Linked DNA regions of Homo sapiens: region 1 is linked to region 2. Evidence: promoter capture Hi-C in human tissues and cell types (Jung and others, 2019). All regions are on one chromosome and are shown on one strand. Each heading gives the region's core, a stretch centred on a gene start or on the middle of the fragment in contact. The rest is flanking DNA. Distances are from core to core; before and after follow the strand shown.

Region 1 (3,332 bases), core at 97-2,596, 56 kb before region 2:
ATTAAGATGACTTTTTTAGACTCCACATATAAGTGATTTCAGGTGGTATTTGTCTTTCTGTGTCTGGCTTTTTTCACTTAGCATAACATCTTCCAGCTTCATTCATATAATCCCAAGTGGTAGGATTTTCTTCTTTTTGAAGGCTGCAGAATATTCCATTGTGTGTATATACCATTTTTTCTTTATCCACTTATCCACTGATGAACACTTAGATTGATTCCACACCTTGGCCACTGTGAATAATGCTGCAATGAACATGGGAGTGAAATCATCTCTTAACATACTGATTTCATATCCTTTTGATATGTACCCCATAGTGGGATTGCTTAGATCATATATATGGTGTTTCTATTTTTAGTTTTTTGAAGGACCTCCATGATACTTTCCATAATGGCTGTATTAATTTACATTCCCACCAACATGTATAAGCGTTCCCTTTTCTCCTCATCCTCACCAACACTTATTTTTCATTGCACTGATAATAGCCATCCTTACATATGTCAGCTGATATCTCATTGTGATTTTAATTTGTACTTCAATGATAATTAGTGATGTTGAGTAGCTTTTCATATGCCTACTGGTCCTCTGTATGTTTTCATTAGAAAAATTTCTTTTGGAGTCATTTGCACATTATTTAATTGGGTTTTTTAGGTATTTGCTGTTGAGTTGTATGAGTTTCCTACATATTTTGATGAACCTTTATGAGATAAATTATTTGAAAATATTTCATCCCATTCCATAGACTGCCTTTTCATTTTCTTAAGTTGTTTCTTTTATTGGGCAGAAAATTTTTAGTTTGATATAGTTTCATTGGTTTTAGTTTTGTTGCTTGTGCTTTTGGTGTCATGTCCAAAAAATCATTATTTTAAATGGCTTAAATTAAGTGAAAAATATTTTACTCAATAATACAGAAAATATTATTTATTCTGAAATAAAGTATTTAAAAGTGAAATGAATTAATGCAGAAAATAGTTTCATTTTTCATAACATGTTGAAATCTTAAATATAGAAATCACTATCTGGCATTTCCACTTTACTAAATTTTCCTCTACATTTTCAATTGATGCTTCTGAAAGACACTTTTGATAATACAAGTCCCTCTAGTGGCATCTGATATGAACATTGTAATACATATAAAAAGTGTTTTTTTTTTAGTGCTTAGAAAACATGTTAAGACAGTTACAAATTTATTAAATTTAGAAATGATAGTACCATCAGTCATTAATTTGTTGTAATATTTATTCACTATGATATGTAACATATATTTATTGTCTTAAATTAATTTTAAAATTGATAAATAAGAATATTGCATTTTCTTACTTAAAAGGGATAGTTCGATAGAGGGAAATGTACTTATTGAGCACCTAGTCTGTGCTATGTGCTATATCTATTAACTCATTAAATTTGATCAACAACCAGGTTATAGAGCAGATTTTGTCACTTCCACTTTAAAGAAAATAAAACTCAGAAAACAATAAAACTCTATAAGTCATCTGTCTAATTAGTGACAGAGCAAAGAGCTCATGTGCAGATTTGTCTAAGCCATTTTTTACTCCACATTTCACTTAAAATATAACTGTTTAAAAATGAAAAGAAAGACTGGCATATAACCAGAAAAATTTGACAGCTAATTCTAAACTGACAAGTAGAAGGGCAATACTAAGCTGTAAGAAGGTGAATCGTTCAAAAAGAGGTTTTTAAATCTCAGGAATTTTGATGTACCTAAATTAGCTCTCTCTCACTCTCTCACACATTTTTCTTCTTAACCAAACTATATCTTACTGAAAGGTAAATGGATAAGTATTTTGTTTCATTTTAAATGAAATTTTGAATTTGATCAGCTAGTTTACTGTACTTATATTATTCACACTCTGATTTCAGTTGAAATGATATAAGTGATACCTCATGGTAAGCAATATCACTCCATGTCCAGATGCAAATACAATATACAAAATTTGTTTAATAGGACATTTCTTATCACAATCTTGATTTTTAGTTTAAGAAGCCAACAAAAAGAAGTATCGTTGCATGGGAGATGTGAAATACCAATTTTGAAAATTTTCCCCCAATTTTCCTAAAACGAAGTACAAAATATCAAATTGTTTACAATTCTGCTTTATATTTTATTTAAGGTGTAACCTCTGAATTATTATTTATTATTCACATTACTAGGTCTGAGTAATATTTTAGTATCATGTCCTTTTAAAAGTAGATTTATCCTGGCTAACGTGGTGAAACCCCGTCTGTACTAAAAATACAAAAAAATTAGCCGGGCATGGTGGCAGGCGCCTGTAGTCCCAGCTACTCCGGAGGCTGAGGCAGGAGAATGGTGTGAACCTGGGAGGCGGAGCTTGCAGTGAGCCAAGATCGCGCCACTGCACTCCAGCCTGGGCGACAGAGCGAGACTCTGTCTCAAAAAAAAAAAAAAAAAAGGGTAGATTTAACATTTGCTCATTAACAATGTGCCCCAAAACTGACAGTCCTTGAAGCAATGAAAAAATAATATATTCATAGTATTGCTTATTTTTAACATTTTCATAGTATCACTTATTTTAAAACTATCCTTGTGATGCCAGATCTTTCTCTGTGCTGGGAAGTAAAATCTCTGTAAAGCAAAAATAAAATTCTAAACCCTCAATTCACTAAATGGACCCTCTTATCAGCCAAGGGAGCCCAACTAAACCTGAGAAAGCACTTCTGACCATGAGGTGAAGGAGGTATCAGACATGCTCATAAACTCTCCTCCCTTTGGGAGTTTGGGCGCATAACTAACCAGCATTAACTTTAAAACAGAGATCCTACGACTGGTAGAACAGACTCTTTGTAGCAATAAGATACTAAATTCCAACCTGGCTATAGAATAGCATCAAATGACAGACAGCAGGGCCCTTAAGGAATTCAAAATATTTTACCACAAAATATGTTTCTTTGACATATTTTAAAATGATTCTGCAAAGTTGACTCTTGTGGGGGAAATTTACATTCTACAGAATCCCTTTCCTTTCCAGGTCTCTTTCTGATCCTGAAAAGATTGGCTGAGAGTCTAGCACATTTTAAAGTCTTAATAGGAAACATTTGCTATCTATTGCCCCTGGGGGTGACCATCTATGAGACTTCATCAAAATAATAAGAACTTTGGTCTCCACAACCCCTTATCTTAACCTAGACACTCCTTTCTATTGATTCCAGGTCTTTAGGTAATAACTTAACTTTTTCATCCAATTGCCAACCACAAAAGCTTTGAATCCACTTAAGACCTCTAAGCCTCTATTTGGAGTTGTCCTGCCTTTCTGGACCAAACCAATGTATACTTCACATGTACTGATTGATGT
Region 2 (3,395 bases), core at 10-2,509:
CGGCATCCGAGCCGCGGCTGCCAGGCCGGGAGAAGGCTGGGCTTGGCCGGGCTCTGCAGCGCTCCGGGCTCCGTCCCTGCCCTGGGCGCCCGCCTCCGCCGCGGGGCGAGGTGGTGGAGACCGCGGACGCCGAGGGTCCTCCCAGTCAGCACGCCGCGTTGCCCCGGCCCTGGGGCGGGGGCCGCGGAGTCCCACCAAGTGGCCCGCGCCTCGGCTTCCGGGAGACCCGAGCGCGGGGAGGGAGTGGGTGCCGCGAGGGGGCGGCTCGCGCGGGGAGAGCCGTCAGCCCACGGCGCCCCTGCGCTGCTGTGGATGTGGCCACGCGCCACTCGGCCCTTGGACTGCTAGGAGAGCGCGGCCCGACGCCACCACGCCGTGGACGCTCGGGGACCCCTGAATCCCAGCGTCAAGGCTGCGACGATGCTCGTGACCTCCACCGCGAAGTCACCTCCGCAAGGCGACGCAAGGACCTCGGCGATCCCGGGCGCCGTACACCCGCCACTTTCCAGCCTCATGTAACCCCCCCTCTGCTGCTTCCTCCCGGCGCTTTGCTTTTCTACAACTGGAAGCCGCGAAGGCGGCTACTGCGCTGAGCCGCTCGCTCTGCTGGTCAAGTTTGGGCGACCCGCGCGGAGGAGGGTCGGGCTGACTGCCGCCGCTGAGCTGTCCCCGGACGGGAGCGCCTGTCCACGGCACTCACCCCCTCCAGCGGTGGAAATGTGGAGAAGTAAGTGGGAGGCGGTGTCGGGAACTGACTCCTCTTAAAACGGTCGGCGCCGCTGCTCTGAAATGGGCGGCTAAGTGCTTGTGGGACTAAGGGCGGCCTCAGAGATGCCCGGAAAATCGCTGCCACGGCCAGAGTGCGGCGCAGACGCGGCAGAGTTGGAGGTGTCCGCGGTGCAGGCTGCTGCCCACGCCGCTCAGGCCAGGTGCTGAGGGCTCAGCCCGCGCCTCGGCCGAACCACTCTCAGCCCCGTTGAGCCACCTCGTCCGCCCGGCTTTCATCGCACCGGCCAGAGGAAAGTTCCCGCGGCCCCCACGCCTCTTCACAGCTGCAGCGCCTCCCCTGCTTTTGGCTCCGCAAGTGCCCACTTGAGTCGGGAGAGGTCCTCGGGCCGCCCCAACTGCCCGCCCCACCTGGCAGTCCGTCCCCGCCCCCGTCCTCGCGGTGAGGCGCTCCCCGCCCCCTCGCTCCCCTCCCCCAAACCACAGCCCGAGCTCGCTCTTGCGCGCGCGCGCTCTCTCCGGCCCAAGTGAATAGTCCTCGCGCAAGCGGGACACTGTGGTGGATGCAATTCCCCTCGCCTCCAGCCGCGAGGAGCTCCCCGGCGCCGCAGGCAGCGTCCTCCTCCGAAGCAGCTGCACCTGCAACTGGGCAGCCTGGACCCTCGTGCCCTGTTCCCGGGACCTCGCGCAGGGGGCGCCCCGGGACACCCCCTGCGGGCCGGGTGGAGGAGGAAGAGGAGGAGGAGGAAGAAGACGTGGACAAGGACCCCCATCCTACCCAGAACACCTGCCTGCGCTGCCGCCACTTCTCTTTAAGGGAGAGGAAAAGAGAGCCTAGGAGAACCATGGGGGGCTGCGAAGTCCGGGAATTTCTTTTGCAATTTGGTTTCTTCTTGCCTCTGCTGACAGCGTGGCCAGGCGACTGCAGTCACGTCTCCAACAACCAAGGTAAGGGACGGGGCGGAGGAGCGGGAGTGGGTGGGAGGAGGAGGGTGCTTGGAGAACCAGGGTACTGGTTGCCTCCTGCAGGTAACTTTGTACAGGGGTCAGAGTCTCCTGGCTCGCCACACGAGGGGATCGAGGATGTCCCCTTACCCTAGCGCCCTGTTTACACCGCCCGGGACGGTGACTCCACAGGCTAGGATCCGTTGTGTTTCTAAATGTCTTTAAACGGTAGCGTGAGCATCAGCTGCAGTTGGGTCCCACCGCTAGCGGCCGTGGGACCGCTCCCCGCTGCGCTGTCTCCACTGGAAGTCAGGCTCCGTGGCACAGACTTAATGGAGACTTCTGGCTCTTTGGTGGTCGCTCTTCTCAGGGGAACGTGTGGTTCTCCCACATGCCTTCTTGAAAGGCAGGGTGCTCCCGCTGTACCCCGTGACCAGTTATCAGTCTTTCCCCACCCCTCCGGTGACTGCCGCCCTCGCCCAGCCTCAGTCCCCATGCTTCATCTACCATCCAGGCCACCGAAGTAGACTTACTCGAAATTCTTCCTAGACCAGATGCTCCAGATCTGTGTAGGGGTTTCATATTCTTGCGGGCAGGGAGTAGAAAAGGGTTTAGGGTGAATTTCCAAGTTGTGAATACCCTATTCATGAAGTCAAGTCACTGACAGATTGCTTGGAGGACTTTGTTTCGGTGGGTAAAGTGGTAAAGTGAAGGTAAATAGTGGTTAAAAAGTGATGGAAAGCCCTTGGAATATTTGAGCATTTTCCCTTTTTCTATTCATACAATCTTCATGAAATATATCTCCTTGTATTTCTGCTGTGCATAAAGATCTATAAAAAGTACCACCTGCATATTCTAAGTCCTTTCAGACTAAGCATGAAACAACCATAAAAGTTTCCCAGCATGTATCTGGCTAGATATTCTCTCACTCGTGCTGTAATGACCAACCGATATGTCCCTTCAAATATTATGTGTGGTAGTCAGTTATAGTTATCATTTAACACATAAGGCATATGTTTCAGAGTCTCGAAGTAATTTGCAGGTATAAAAATGGAGGTCAGATGGCTTGAAAGTGTTCACTTTTTGTGTGAGGAGAAGGTTAAGGGAGAAGATAAACAACACAGCATTCTTCTTTGTCATCAACATATATGGCCATTTTACTTAGAAATGTTCAGAATCAGAATAAAATATAATTATTAAATTGTTCTCATTTATACAGTGGTACTTTGGCATATTTTCCTAATTATTACAGTTATTTTAAACTGACAGAATGCAATCACAAATGTGTAGGTGAATTTGGAAACCATACATAACCTTCATGGCTTTGAAGATAGATCACATAATAGATATCAGTTACAGTGTCCTGTTTTGCTGTGGTGGTATATACCATCACACTACATCCCTCATTTATTTTCAAAGACTGTGGGTATAAAATATTGAATAGGTAGTTAACTTCATTTCTGTGAAGGTAGAAGATTGTTAAAAAACGTGTAACGATTACCCTTTTTTATTATGACAAAACAATTTTTAATAATTGGAAAGTCAGACATTGATACTGTACTTTATAATAGTAAGTAAGGATACTAGAGATGAATACTTTGAGAGTCAAGTGTACTAGAAGTTTGTAACAGTTGTTCCCATGCAATAATTTCCCCAAACAATGTTTATTTATTTAAATACCTATGATGCATCAGTAACTACCCTAGGCCCAGGGGATACTAACA

Evidence for each region. Contacts are between HindIII fragments. The study calls those that stand out against the background at their distance.
Region 1: a contact is called between a fragment that was not itself captured here and the fragment with the promoter of EPHA6 in region 2, in 1 of the 25 tissues and cell types used here (H1 embryonic stem cells).

The regions. Positions count from the first base shown.
Region 1 is chr3:96,757,728-96,761,059 of GRCh38, forward strand. No RefSeq gene overlaps it. Among named protein-coding and RNA genes, the nearest start is that of EPHA6, 55 kb to the right of the region's middle. The HindIII fragment of the contact is 7,205 bases long and covers 1-3,332 here.
Region 2 is chr3:96,813,335-96,816,729 of GRCh38, forward strand. It overlaps EPHA6 (EPH receptor A6), which reads left to right and starts at 1,260. Exons shown (of 18, transcript NM_001080448.3): 1 at 1,260-1,674. The coding sequence starts at 1,290. It overlaps LOC124909397 (a long non-coding RNA gene), which reads right to left and starts at 1,073. Exons shown (of 2, transcript XR_007095974.1): 1 at 701-1,073. RefSeq lists silencers at 96-165, 226-345. The HindIII fragment of the contact is 14,633 bases long and covers 1-3,395 here.